Regions from separate parts of the Homo sapiens genome. Here all the other regions are linked to region 3. The links are contacts of gene promoters, found by promoter capture Hi-C in human tissues and cell types (Jung and others, 2019). All regions are on one chromosome and are shown on one strand. Each heading gives the region's core, a stretch centred on a gene start or on the middle of the fragment in contact. The rest is flanking DNA. Distances are from core to core; before and after follow the strand shown. Region 1 has its middle 25 kb from the start of CCND3. Region 2 overlaps TRERF1 (transcriptional regulating factor 1). Region 3 holds the start of GUCA1B (guanylate cyclase activator 1B). Region 4 overlaps TRERF1 (transcriptional regulating factor 1). Region 5 overlaps TRERF1 (transcriptional regulating factor 1).

Region 1 (2,910 bases), core at 395-2,894, 230 kb after region 3:
ACTTTTTTTCCTATGTCTTTGTTGTTGTTGTTTGTTTTTTAGAGATGGAGTCTTGCTTTGTCACCCAGGCTGGAGTACCATGGTGTAATCATAGCTTGGACTTCTGGGCTCAACAATCCTCCTGCCTTAGCCTCCCAAGTAACTGGGATTACAGGCCCGATTTTCCTAGGTTTTTTGGCTGCATCCTTCTTAGCTGCATCTTCATATCATAATAATTTTGTAATATTTTCCATAGAATTAAAAAAACCAGTATTCCTCTAGCATGATTGATTATAAACTTTTTCTATTATTGATAGTCCAGAAAAGCTTATTTCAGCTTCAGAAGTCATTATTGGTAATGTCATAAAGATATTAGGATTAGTGTCAAATTTGGGACATCAAAGTTTCTTTCATATATGAGCTGTGAGATTTTAGGGCATTTTTTTCCAGTGCACAGTGATTCATTGAATTGATGACACTTTATACCCCATTTGCTGTTAGCTAAATGTTATCTTCATTGATATCAGCATTTTGTGTCAAATCAGCAGGAAATTCTACTCTTTCCCCATACTGCTTCTCCTCTCCTACCACTTTAGTTGGAATGAAGATGGTTTACATTCAGAAAAGACTAATAATTAAACTCCCTTCTCATAAATGTCTGACCTTTTAAAGGGAATTTATTACAAAATCCTGGGTGCAAAAACATTTGAAGCATTTAGAATGATTTGGCCTACTCAAGGGAAGGCTGGAGAAGGCAAATAAATAACCACCTTGAAGGATGTGGACATTAGTGGGGGTTAGAACCACCAGGGTGTGTCTGAGACTTTGATTCTGGGGACTGGGGAAAGAATCACGCAGCTGCATAGTTAACAGGTTCTGCAAGTCACTTTGACGCACTAAAATTGATACAATGGATAAGAAAGTCTGTGAGTGAGAACAGCTAAAAATTGCCTCAGTGTGGACTCCAAGTGTGATCTTCACTACTCAAGGTGTGTCCCAGCAGCTGCTGCGGGAGATGGATAGAAATGCAGATTCCCGGGCTCTACCCGGAAGCGTTGAATTAGCATCTGCATTTACCAAAGTTCCAAATGATTCATGTGCAGGTTATTGTCTAAGAAGCCTGGACTAGAGAGTTGAGAAGGAACTTGCTGATATGTCCTGGCCCAGCTCCTTTTATAGATGAAGAAATCGAGGCTTAGTCACTTGCCCAGTGTCATAAGTGACAGAGGTAGGAATCAAATCCAGGGATATTTGATTCCAAATCTTTCAGAGGGAATCAGTAAGTGCTTGTTGAATTACTTATTAATTTTTCATTCAAGCATTCATTAATATTATTATGTATTCATTGAAGAGACTTAGGGTAGGATGAAAATGTGGCTGTCTAGCCTTGGTGACTCTGCTGCCCTGGGAATAGGAAGGTGACACTCCTCCGCCTTCCCCCTTTCAAAATGCCGTTCTCCATGACTCAGCAAAGGAACCATGGGTCTGAAACCAGAGGTGAGACAAAGAAAACCTCAAAAATGTTTTGTTTTGTTTTTTTCCTAGAGGAATTTCCTTTCATGTCATTCATTCCTCTGCTAGGGAATCCAGGAAGCCTTCGACCTATGGTTAGCCGGCACTTAAAACAAGGCCTGACACAAAGCATGCTATATAACTATTGTTATATTATTATTAATTATGGAGCAGTTATTAATACCTAGAGACTTGCGTCAACTTGTGTTAAACTTCTCTTTCCATTTGTTCTAGTCTCACCCCAGAATTTGTGTGAATTCTCAATTATTCATGCTGTAGAGGGCTTAAGGGGTCAACTGCAAATGAGTGAATAAATTAATAAATCAAAAAGCTTGGGTTCCCCTCTAAAATGAGATTATTGTAATGGATGAAGAGGCATGACTCAGTAGATGGTTGATTTGGGAATAACCACATCCAGTCTAGAAGGGAGCTGACCCTCAGAATTTCTAGCTATGGGATAGACAGACCTGCCTAACTAAGAGACAGTTTACTGATAGACTGTGGTAAATTCTGTATGGAGATATACAGACAACAGAAGGAGAACATAATTCCTGGTTCGGTGGGGAGGGGAGGGTGTGCTTGTGGTTCTCAGCCCTGGATGTGTTTCGGAATCACCTGGAGATAAACATATAGAACCTGGGCTCCATGCCTAAGATTCTGATTTTCAGTTCTGGGAGTATAACAGGGCCATCAGAATTCTCTTTTTTTTTTGAGACAGGGTTTCACTGTCGCCCAGGCTAGAGTGTAGTGGTGGCAATTATGGCTCATTGCAGCCTCGACCTCCTGGGCTCCAGGGATCCTCCCACCTCAGCCTATAACTGGGACTACAGGCATGCACCACCATATCTGGCTGATTTTAGTTTTTGTGGAGCTCGGATATCTCTGTGTTGCCCAGAAGGTGGCCATCAGAATTAACAAGCTTACCAGGTGATCAGGACCTGAAGCCAAGCACTAAACATAATAATAACAGCACATACTATAAACTGGACATCTTAGGTATTTTCTCTTATTCTCATAACCATCCCTAAATGCAATTTATATTATCCCCATTTTACAGGCAGGAACACTGAGGTTTAAGTAATTTGGCCAAGGTCACACAGCACAGCCCATATTTTAATTAAGCTCTCAGTCTAAAGGCCTAAGTTATTTTGCCATATCCCATACAGCAGGAGGTCAGCCTGGAAGAATCTTCCCAGAAATTTAAATTAAGATAATTAACTCAGATGTAAACTGTAAAATCTGTACATAATGGGTCAGACAAAGATATGCAAGCGGATTTAAAGAGACACAAAGGCTCCGAGCTAGTGAAAGTTCGACCTTAACCCTACGGCATCGATTAACATATCAAAAGGAAGAATGTGTCCTTTGGGGTGGGAGGGCGCTTGGGCCAGTTAGTCTGATACTTTGTGAGCTGAGGGA
Region 2 (2,744 bases), core at 14-2,513, 180 kb before region 3:
CCGTCTGGCATGGCATATAGATATTTATTTAACTCTTTCTTTGTCTCCTCCCTGTGGAACGTAAACACCAAAACTTGTTCTGTTTTGTTCACTACTCTGTCCCCAGAACCTACAACATGCCTGGCACAGGCTGGGCGTGATGGCTCACACCTGTAATCCCATGTCATCCCAGCACTTTGGGAAGCCAAAGTGGGTGGATCGCTTGGGCTCAGGATTTCAAGACCAGCATGGGCAACATGGCGAAACTCTGTCTCTACCAAAAATACAAAAATTATCCAAGTGTGGTAGCACACGCCTGTGGTCCCAGCTGCTTGGGAGGCTGAGGTGGGAGGATTGTTGATGCCTGGAAAGTCAAGGCTGCAGTGAGCTGTGATTGCGCCACTGCACTCCAGCCTGGGTGACAGAGCGAAACTCTGTCAAGTAAATAAATAAATAATACATGCCTGACATATAGTAAGTGCCCAGTATCTATCTGTTGAAAGAAGGAAGGGAGCAAAGGTGGGAGGGAGGGGAGGAAGGAAAGATAAACACAAATGGAAATGAAAGGCCTCCAGGCCCTTGGTTTTAAGGATGGTTTGATTTGGTTAGTCTCCTCTATAGGAAAAGGACACAGTGGGCTGGGGTGGTGGAGACTCCATTGCTTTCCATTGGCCATGTGGATCCATCTCTTTGGCATGGTAGGCTGGCAACATTTCCTGAGCTCCATTCATCCTGCGTGGCCCTTGTACCTACCATGCCTAGACTCCCTTTTCTGGCAAGGAAAAGACAGGTACTAGAAGATGAGCTGAGGACCCAGGGAAAGACTGTGGGGGGTGGTACACACAAAATATATTAAAAAAATTTTTTTTTGAGACAAGCCCTCACTCTGTCACCCAGGCTGGAGTGCAGTGGTGCCATCACGGCTTACTGCAGACTCTACCTGCTGGGCTCAATTGATCCTCCCACCTCAGCCTCCTGCGTAGCTTGGGACTACAGGTGCATGCCACCATGCCTGCCTATTTTTTTTTAAATTTTTAGTAGAGACAGTGTCTTACTATGTTGTCCAGGCTAGTCTTGAACTCCTGGACTCAAGCAATCTGCCTGCCTTGGCCTCCCAAAGTGCTGGGATTAGAGGTATGAGCCACCGGCCCAGCCTACAATATATAAATTTTGGTTGTGTTCATAAAATTGGGAGGTTGGGAGGGGAAGCTGAAAGCTCCCAGGTTTAGGTCCTGCCCCTTTTTTGTGGGTAGCCTTGGACAGTTACTTCCCCTCTCTCAGCCTCAGCTTCCTCATGTATAAAATAAGAATTGGACTAGGCATCGACTCTCCTAGGGATCCATGCAGATGGGCTTCGGGGGTCTTTGCCTCTGACAGACAAGGGCCAGTGATCTAGGTTGTTCCCAAGGTCCCTTCTAGTACTGAAATCCATGTAGACCTCTGCATTTGAAATTCTGCCCTCTTTGGATTGAATATCAGCTTTTTGATGAAACCATGACTTTCTTGATATGCTGAAAATAAAGGTGACAGTTTAAAAAAGTAAATATTTAAAAAGTTTTCTCAGTGCCGGTTACTTTAGTAAATGTGGGTTTTTTTTTTTTCTTTTTTCTTCTTGGTCTCAACCTATAAGCAATCACAAGATCAAACAAGTTTCAGTTTGAGTTCCCTCTGCTTGACAGTCTGAGCCTGTATCGCCTCGACTTATCAAGTTTGCTTTCAGCTAGTCTGGCTGTTTTGGGGAGGCCTTATCAGCCAAGTGTTCAGCCCTCAGCGTAGGAAGATATGGTCTTGGGCTTTCTTTGGAAGCTGGTACCCCTCATCCGCTTATCTCCACCTCCCTTCAACCCCTCACCTGCCCCTCAACCTGGCCAATGAGCTGTTATAACACAGCAGTAATAGTCCCACTAGCTTTGGGAAGATCACCAAATTCTTCCCCCTTCCCAATCCCTTGCCTCTTACCCAGAACTAGTTACATAATTTACTGAGCTCAGTGCAAATGAAAATGTGAGGCCTCTTGATTAAAAATCATTAAGACTTTCAAGATGGTGACAAGAGCACCTTCAGCAAGCATGGGGTCCTGTGAGACCGCACGGGCTGCATGTTCCTAAAGCCAGTGCTGCCCTTGCCACTTCCATCTTAGGTTACCAGGACCAACCATGGAGATGTATATAACACAATTTGAGAGGCACTGAACATTCCCTCGGAAGGAATTTGAGTTATTTCTATCATGGCCTGTGAGATTCAGGGCTGCTATCCTGAGCCACTGTGCGTTTGGAAAATCCGTACAACTGGGTAGGGAGGGTTTGGACAGTGCCCATGAGTCCTGGTAGAAGGGGCAGAGAAGGATGATTTATAAATGTTCATACTGCCCAAGCAGCCCCACGGATGCTGACAGCATCATTTGTTCTGTCCTTTACAAAGTATTTTCATGGATAAATGAAATGTGTTATATCCATACAATGGAATGTTATTCATCCATAAAAGCAGTTGGAGTACTGATACATGCTACAACATGGATGAACCTTGAAGACATTATGCTGAGTGAAAGAAGCCAGTCACAAAAGGCCATATGGTGTACAATCCCATTTATAGGAAATGTCCGGAATGGGCAAATCTGTAGAGATAGAAAGCAGCTGTCAGGAGAAGAGAGGAAAAGAGAGTGACTGCGAATGGGTACGGGGTTTCTTTGGGATGATGAGAATGCCCTGAAATAAAGTAGTCATAGTAGTAGTTGTACCACCTTGTGACTATCCTAAAAATCAGTG
Region 3 (2,700 bases), core at 76-2,575:
AAAAAAAAGAAGAAAAAATAGCTGGGTGTTGTGGTGTGCACCTGTAATCCCAGCTGCTCGGGAGGCTGAGGCATGAGAATCACTTGAACCCGGAGGCGGAAGTTGCAGTGAGCCGAGATCACACCACTGCACTCCAGCCTGGGCGACAGAGCGAGACCCTGTCTCAAAAAATAGAAATTTAAAAAAAAAAAGCAAAGAAAAAGAAAAATGTGTGTCCCTGGTCTTTTGATTTCTTGGAGGTGTCATTTTTATGTTACATTAAAATAAGCATGAATATGTAATTGTTCAAAAGCAAATTTTACATGACCTATAATGTAAAAGTAAGAGCCTTCAAAGATATTTTAGGCCATGCTCCCAGATCCTTCTCACATGTTAGTATTTTGGAGGAAATGTGAAAAAGGCACTACCCCTAGGTCTTGTGTGAAGGGTTGGAGGGAGGCATTTGTAGTTTAAATCAGAAAGTGAAAAGCTCCCAAGATGAAAGGTGTAATCTGGAAAGGAGCTTCAGGGACCGAGTTAGCCTGGGAAGAGAGTTGCTCACCTAGAGCCCTTCCCATCATAGATTCTGCCTCTTTTCACTAGACCGTCTGAGGGGCGAGTCCCAGATCACCAGCAGATTCTGTTTTATGGCCTAGGACTTGATCTCACTTCCTCTCTGGATTTGAGTCTCCTGTCTCCAAGATGGGCCTCCCTGAAGCAATGTGAGGCCCAGCTAAAGAGATAGGGAGTGAGTGAGATGGGAGGATCCCAGCCTAGCACCCCGACTCTTTCTTCACTCTGCATCTCTCTGCTTACCTCTCAGTTTCTTCCCCTTCTACCTCTTCAGAGTCTACCAGGGCCAGCTTGGTTGCTTTGTTGACAAGGCTAAGGGAAGGAGTGAGGCTGGAGGAGTTTAGGCTGGAGGTCAGAACTTCCTGGGGAATCTCTTTTTTTTTTTTTTTTTTTTTTTTTGAGACAGAGTCTCACTCTGTCCCCCAGGCTGGAGTGCAGTGGTGTGATCGCAGCTCACTGCAACCTCTATCTCCCAGGTTCAAGTGATTCTCCTGCCTCAGCCTCCTGAATAGCTGGGATTACAGGTACCCACCACCATGCCCAGCTAATTTTTTGTATTTTTAGTAGAGACAGGATTTCACCATGTTGGCCAGGCTGGTCTCGAACTCCTGACCTTGTGATCCACCCACCTCGGCCTCCCAAAGTGCTGGGATTACAGGCATGAGCCACCGCACCCGGCCACCTGGGGAATCTTCTAATAGTCTTAGGGCAGCTTAGCTGGCCTGGACCCACCTCCCTTGCCACCTGCCCCCTGCACCGACTGATCATGTTCAGTCACCCAGGAGATGATGGAGAGGCTGATCAGGCCTCCTGGAAAGGGAGGAAGAGGGCCCTAGTTGGAGAGATCCATCAGCAGAAGCCAGGGAGGAGATACAGACCCTTGCTCCCTGATGCTCCTCAGGGCTAGCATGGGGCAGGAGTTTAGCTGGGAGGAGGCGGAGGCAGCTGGCGAGATAGATGTGGCGGAGCTCCAGGAGTGGTACAAGAAGTTTGTGATGGAGTGCCCCAGCGGCACACTCTTTATGCATGAGTTTAAGCGCTTCTTCAAGGTCACAGACGATGAGGAGGCCTCCCAGTATGTAGAGGGCATGTTCCGAGCCTTCGACAAGAATGGGGTAAGGCACCCTGAAGGGAAGGACCAGTGGCCAGTCCACCTGGCGCCTTCCTCCACAAGTGTCCTCAGGGAGAGCTCCCAGTTCCCCACTCCTCGGCTCTTTCTCTGCTCTTCTTTCCACTCCGTCTCTCTTTACCTTTTCTGTCTCACTCACCAAACCCTTCTGTCTCTTCTCTTCCTTTTGTCCCTTTCCATCTTCTCTGTCTCTCCTTCCCTCCCTCCATCTCTTAGCTGTCGGCTGATGCTCCCTGTGTCCTCTTCTTGAGAGCTGAAGGGCGACTGGCAGACAGTCCAGGTCCTCTCTTTGTGTATTTTTGACCAAGACTCTGCAGCCCAATGACCGGGTTTTCGCATCTGCCAGAGCCCCTGTCACTCTAAACACTAGGAGCAAAAGAGATGTTCTAAATGAGACAAGGTATCTTAGCATGGGCTATGAGCTCCCTCTTGTTGGGGTTCTTCTGAGACTGGTCAGATCCTCCCTGTCAAGAATGCTGGAAGAGGCTCCTGCATGTATTGGGAGACTGGGCGAATGACTGCAAAAGCCCCTTTCAGCTCTTCAAGTCCTGGAAGGTTTCATTAAATCATTCAGACTAGAGTTTCTCTAAGCCCACAATGTCACTAGCAGCTAAGAAGATAACACATCTTGTAAATGCACCAGGGGATTGAATTTTAAATTTCAATTCAGTTAAAAACCCCTTGATTATTTAAGGTTATCCAGTTCAGTGCCCTGGCAATCCTCAAATACCTCAAATACCTCAAATGCCCTGGTATTTGCCTCAAATACCAATTTAATCTGAAGAAAGTGTCAGTTCTCCATTCCTCAGTGCGTGGAGAACTTAGCTTTCTAAGCTGAATCACTGGGAATGCCACTTCAGGTCTCATCCTGTCGCTGGTACCAGTCAGTGCACGTCCCCACAGTGCCTGTCCCGGGACAGGAGGGTGAGGTCAGCACCTTCAATTCAACAGAACCTCCTTAGAGATGAACCCCATCGACCACCCCACAGGGCACAGAGCCAGTTTCGGACTTCTCAGCG
Region 4 (2,886 bases), core at 251-2,750, 240 kb before region 3:
TTCATTTCCTTCCATATAAGCATGCTTCTCTCTCAGCTTAATTTCTTTCTACATGAATAACTCCTATTAGGGGTGTGTGTGTGTGTGTGTGTGTGTGTGTGTGTGTGTGTGTGTGGTGGAGGGTGTCTGCTGGTGTTCCAGTTCTCCCAGTTTTTGTTTGTCGGAAAATGCGTTTTATTCACCTTCATATTTGGGAGATTTTTTTCCCCTGGAAAAAAATCTTTATTCACCTTCATATTTGGGAGATTTGGGCTTGTTTTATTTTCTTTCAGTCCTTTGGAAATGTCATTCCATTGTCTTCTGGCTTCCTTCATTTCTGTTAAAAAGTCATCTGTCAGTTTTATTGTGGTTCTTCTGAAAGTAACATATCTGTTTTTTCTCTTTGGCTTTGTTTTTTTTTTTAGCAATTTTACTATGATGTACATAGGTGTGGTTCTCTTCATATGGATCCCCTGTGGAGTTTGGAGTGCATCTGTAAATCATGGCTCTGTGTTTTTGGTCAGTTTTAGAAAATTCTTGAAGCATTGTCTTCCAATTTTGCTTTTGCTGTTTAATCCTCTCCTCCCTTTCTCAGGCTCCTGCACATATGTTAGACCCTTTCATGGTATCCTACATGTCTCTGGAACTCATTTCTGTATTTTCTGTGCCTTTATGTATTTTTTTCTACTGACCCATCTTCCACAGCACCAGTCATTTCTTTTACTATTCCTTTTTGTTGTCAAGCACATCTATTCAGTTCTCTCTTTTTTGAAAAACAGAGACAGGGTCTTGCTCACTCTGTTGCCTAAGCTGGAGTACAGTGGCACAAACTTGGCTCACTGCAGCCTCAAACTCATGGGCCCAAGTGGTCCTCCTGACTCAGCCTCCCGTAGCTGGGACTGTAGGTGTGCTCCACCATGCTTGGATAATTAAAAAAAATTTTTTTTTTGTAGAGATGGGGTCTTGCTCTGTTTATCCAGGCTGGTCTTGAACTCCTGACCTCAAGTGATCCTCCTGCCTTTGCCTCCCAAAGTGCTGGGATTATGAATGTGAGCCACCATGCCTGGCCCTTGTAATTTTAAAGTTCTGGCTGACAACTTCAATATTTGGATACCTTCTGAGGTTTGTTTTTATTGATCGTGTATTTTTGTTGGTTTGGTCCTATTTCCTGACATGCTTGGTGATTGTTGTTTGAGTGCTGGGCATTTTACCGTGGAAAATGTAGAGGCTCAGTTAAGGCTGGTATATTTTTTATTTGCCCTTACCTGTACAATGGTACAAGAAGGCCTTGGTAGGCCCTGATTTCAGAGTTTCATCTGCTTGCCACTGTAAAACTACCAAAGCTCTGCTTAATGTGCTAGTGTTTTAATAGCTTTTTTTTTTTCTGTTTGGATTCCTAGGTTTTAGCTCTGTGCACAGAAGACTTAGGTGTGTGTCAGTGCCTTGAGGAGAAATCGCTTGCAGAACATTGGACTCATTTCTTTGGGGTTCACTTTTTTTTCTGGTATCTTGGGCTCTTAAATCTTGGATATGTTCATAGCCCTGAACTCCAGTTTTTGTCTTCTCGGCCCAGGGAGAAAGCTGCTGAAAGCTTTCATTTACTGCTTTCTGTTTTGCCTCTGTGTTCCTTGCACCAGATTAGCAAGTGTCCTGAGGGAAAACAGTAGCTACTAATACATGGCTCACCTCACTGCACCTCCCTTTCCTCTAGGAGCCTGGTCCCTCAAGTCCCAACTGCCTTGTTGTATTTCCACACCTTCAAAATGTTATTATTATAATTATCTTGTATTTTATCTATCTTATGTAGCTGTTCTGTACCAGAGGACTAGTTTAATATTCACTGCCCCATAATACCTGAAAGCGAAGTCTAATTTCGTATCCTTTATGATTAACATTAGAAGTATTTTCCATGTCTTTAAACATTCTTTAATTCTTTAGGTGACTTTTTTTTTTTTTTTTTTTGAGACAGAGTCTCACTTTGTCTCCCAGGCTGGAGTGCAGTGGCATGATCTCTGCTCACTGCAACCTCTGCCTCCTGGCTTCAAGCGATTCTCCTGCTTCAGCCTCCTGAGTAGCTGGGACTACAAGGCGCCTGCCACCACGTCTGGCTAATTTTTGTATTTTTAGTAGGAACAGGGTTTCACCATATTGGCCAGGCTGGTCTCAAACTCCTGACCTCAAGTTATCCACCCACCTCAACCTCCCAGAGTGCTGGGATTACAGGTGTGAGCCACTGTGCCTGGCCCATCATGTGATTTTTTAATATTTGCACAAGCTCCCTGTTATGGCTTTTATGATCTACTCACATTTTCTTCAATTGTCAGATACTTAGGTCATTTCACACAGTTTGCTTTTATGAATAATACCGCCACAAATGTCTTTGTATATTTTTGCTGAAGCATTTTATTCATATTTTAAAAGTGTGGAGTAGAAATGATCAGAGTTGAAAATACTAATCAGTAGTGATTGTTTTTATGCATATAGCATGTACAAAAATAAAACTATAGACCTTTTCTCTCTTGGATGGTTCAGAAAGAAGCTTTCCTTTTTAAAAAGTATTTTTATTTCTTGAGAAATATTCATATAATGCTCACCACGTGCCAGACAATTCTTTTACATGCTGTATAATACTGACTTTAATTCTCCCAAGAGCCCTAGGGCACAGGTATTATTACTGGTCCTCTTTTTTGAGAAGAGGAATCTGAGGCATGAGGGAATAGGTCACTTGCCCATGGTACAGTTGTCAGTGGCAGAGCTGAGCCATGCATTCTGACCCTAGAGCCTGTACTGTTAACTGCTATACTATACTACCATGAGCTCATCGTTCTCATTTATTATCACTTTCTTTCTAACCATTTTAGCTTATTTCAGGGCTTCCTCAGTCTTCTGTTAGTTGGGCCTTTTTTT
Region 5 (2,700 bases), core at 182-2,681, 130 kb before region 3:
CAGAATAGCCTCAAATGACACAGGACAGTGTTGTTTCAAGGCAGGGCCTTAGCTTCCAATGTGTGTTTCTCCCAGTGCTTGCTATATAGATTCGCCTCTTTCCTCCCCACTTATCATAGTGACTTCCCGGAGACCTGGTCAGGGAGGAGGCTGACTGGGGTGGATGCTGGTAAATTTCTCTCAGGTGAGCATGAGCTGGGGGCCTTCCAGGATCAGGGTGAATTGGAGCCTCATTTTCCCCAGCCGGTTGCCCATGGCCTAGAAAGTAAACTCAGTTTTAGAAATGTGTGAACAGTGCTGTAGGGATTTTTTTTAACTTTCAGCAGAGCAGATTCTTCAGCCCTATTTAAGATGCTCTGAACAAACCTTCAGAGTGGCCCTTAAGACTCTGCTTAGCATGGCATTGCTGTTCAGACAGACAACTCCACATTTCCTCCCAAAAATTAGGGCTAGGAACCAAATACCGCATGTTCTCACATGAAAGTGAGAGCTAAGTGATGAGAACTCATGGACACAAAGAGAGGAACAACAGACACTGGGGCCTGCTTGAGGGTGGAGGCTGGGAGGAGGGAGAGGAGCAGAAAAAATAACTATTGCCTCCTAGGCTTAGTGCCTGGATGATAAAATAATCTGCACAACAAACCTCCGTGACACCAGTTTACCCACATAACAAACCTGCAGAGGTACTCCTGAGCCTAAAATAAAAGTTGTTTTTTTGTTTGTTTGTTTGTTTTTTAATTAGGGATAGTTGGCTGGGCACAGTGGCTCATACCTGTAATCTTAGCACTCTGTGAGGCGGAGGCGGGCAGATCACCTGAGGCCAGGAGTTCAAGACCAGCCTGGCCAACACAGTGAAACCCCATCTTTACCAAAAAATACAAAAATTAGCTGGGCATGGTAGCGTGCACCTGTAGTCCCAGCTACTCAGGAGGCTGAGGCACATGAGAATCGCCTGAACCCGGGAGGCGGAGGTTGCAGTGAGCCAAGATTGTACCACTGCCCTCCAGCCTGAACAACAAAATGAGACCCTGTCTCAAAAAAAAAAAAAAAAAAAGAAAGAAAGAAAAAGAAAATTAGGGATAGTAATTGGGGCATGAAAACCATAATAAGGTGGATTGTGATAATTACAAAACTACCACTTCCTCTGGCCCTCAAACACACCGAGTTCACACCTGTCCATCTCCAAGCCCTCACCCCCACCATGCCTTCTGCCTGCCCTGCTGTTCCCCAGCTCCAGGAGGGCTGACTCCTTTCCTTCACTTAGATCTTGCTCCAATGGTGCATCCTCAGAAGAGTCTTCTAAAACAACTGTTCTCTCTCCTCTTATCTTACTTGGTTTTCTTAGCAGTTACAACCTCAGCAATAACAGTACCAACTATGTTCCAGACAGTGTTGTTAAAGCTTTTCGTGTGTGAATGCATTTGATCCTCACGTTAACCTTATAAAAGAAGAAGACTGTTACTCTGCAGACAAAGAAACCAAGTCCTAAGGGAGGTTAATGGGATAGCTCGGCACTCGGAGTTATCTATTCAGTAAACGTTTATGGGGTCCTCATTATGGACTAGGCTCTGTGCTAGGATCTGGGGATACAGAAGTCATCATCTTTGCATTCCAGTCATCAGCAAACCAACGTTCCAAGACCAGATTGGGTCAATGACTCCTCTCTGAGACCCCGGACAAATTGCCTACACAGATACCTGTGCTTTATTTTACCCATCTGTAAAAGGGAATTAAAGGGACAACCCCCAGCTCCTCCTCTGGGTTGGTTCTTGTGAGATATATGGGTGAAACCACTTTGGGACATGCACAGTGGGGCACAGATGCAGGATGTCACTGGGTATACTTATTCTGGGACCAGGGAACAACAAGCACATCCCCTTCTCCTACCTGGATGAAGGAATGGTGGAGAATCAGCCACTATTGACCTCTATCCTGGTGGTATTAAGTTTATCAGATTCCCCCCACCTCCCGCCCTTACTTGTGGGCATTGTATAACATCAGAGGATTCTTAGATGTCTCAAGGATTCTGACTAGAATCTCAAAATCATTTTTTGGCCTGCTGCTAGAAGAGATACTATGCTTCTACACCTGGCCAGTAGGATTATGGCATTTGAGGCAACAGTCCCGTATGATTGGAAGTGGTTGGTTATATTGTTTGGAAGAGGTGACCACCCAAAAGTCCCTTGTCTGTTGATGGCACCTTTTGAGGAAACTGTTCTGATTCATTATTAGGCTACCAGTCTGGCTGTTTAATTTTCAACAGTTCCAACAGCTGTTGTTATTCTGGAACCTAATACAAGAGCATTGTTTTGCTTTCTATCATTTTTGCCAAGATCATTAGTTAAAAACAAGCTTGTGGTAATAGATGATACATTGGTGCATGGTGGAGAAACAGCCCCATGGAAAGGGAGTCTTGCTCCTTGTCACTCTCCTGAGATGGGCTATAAAGAATGGAATGATCAAAGCTTAGAGCAAAGCAAGCCAGGGTGTCTGGCCCCATCCTCCTGGATTATATGTGAGGGGAGGCTTTGGTCTCCAGTTCTTGCCCTGGGCCCCACCCACCTTTCTGTCATTCATGTTTTGTTTCCTGTGTCTAATTTGTTGCATGATCTGTTAATAACCAAACATGCCCTCACAAGTTGGGAAATATTTGCAGAGTGATAAAGCAATTGTGTTATAATCTCCCACTTTCCAAGAGAG

The links. The method cuts DNA at HindIII sites, captures the fragments that hold promoters and counts their contacts. A contact is called where the count stands out against the background at its distance.
Region 1: a contact is called between a fragment that was not itself captured here and the fragment with the promoter of GUCA1B in region 3, in 2 of the 25 tissues and cell types used here (H1 embryonic stem cells and spleen).
Region 2: a fragment that was not itself captured here is called in contact with the fragment with the promoter of GUCA1B in region 3 in 1 of the 25 tissues and cell types used here (IMR-90 fibroblasts).
Region 4: a contact is called between a fragment that was not itself captured here and the fragment with the promoter of GUCA1B in region 3, in 2 of the 25 tissues and cell types used here (dorsolateral prefrontal cortex and spleen).
Region 5: a fragment that was not itself captured here is called in contact with the fragment with the promoter of GUCA1B in region 3 in 3 of the 25 tissues and cell types used here (adrenal gland, mesenchymal stem cells and pancreas).

Annotation. Positions count from the first base shown.
Region 1 is chr6:41,965,711-41,968,620 of GRCh38, reverse strand. It overlaps a transcript of CCND3 not described here. Among named protein-coding and RNA genes, the nearest start is that of CCND3, 25 kb to the right of the region's middle. The HindIII fragment of the contact is 3,497 bases long and covers 1-2,910 here.
Region 2 is chr6:42,377,225-42,379,968 of GRCh38, reverse strand. The region is part of intron 2 of TRERF1 (transcriptional regulating factor 1); the gene reads left to right. Among named protein-coding and RNA genes, the nearest start is that of TRERF1, 73 kb to the left of the region's middle. The HindIII fragment of the contact is 7,127 bases long and covers 1-2,744 here.
Region 3 is chr6:42,193,581-42,196,280 of GRCh38, reverse strand. It overlaps GUCA1B (guanylate cyclase activator 1B), which reads left to right and starts at 1,325. Exons shown (of 4, transcript NM_002098.6): 1 at 1,325-1,667. The coding sequence starts at 1,461. The HindIII fragment of the contact is 9,949 bases long and covers 1-2,700 here.
Region 4 is chr6:42,431,898-42,434,783 of GRCh38, reverse strand. All of the region lies in intron 2 of TRERF1 (transcriptional regulating factor 1), which reads left to right. Among named protein-coding and RNA genes, the nearest start is that of TRERF1, 19 kb to the left of the region's middle. The HindIII fragment of the contact is 3,553 bases long and covers 1-2,886 here.
Region 5 is chr6:42,326,359-42,329,058 of GRCh38, reverse strand. All of the region lies in intron 3 of TRERF1 (transcriptional regulating factor 1), which reads left to right. Among named protein-coding and RNA genes, the nearest start is that of MRPS10, 110 kb to the right of the region's middle. The HindIII fragment of the contact is 6,647 bases long and covers 1-2,700 here.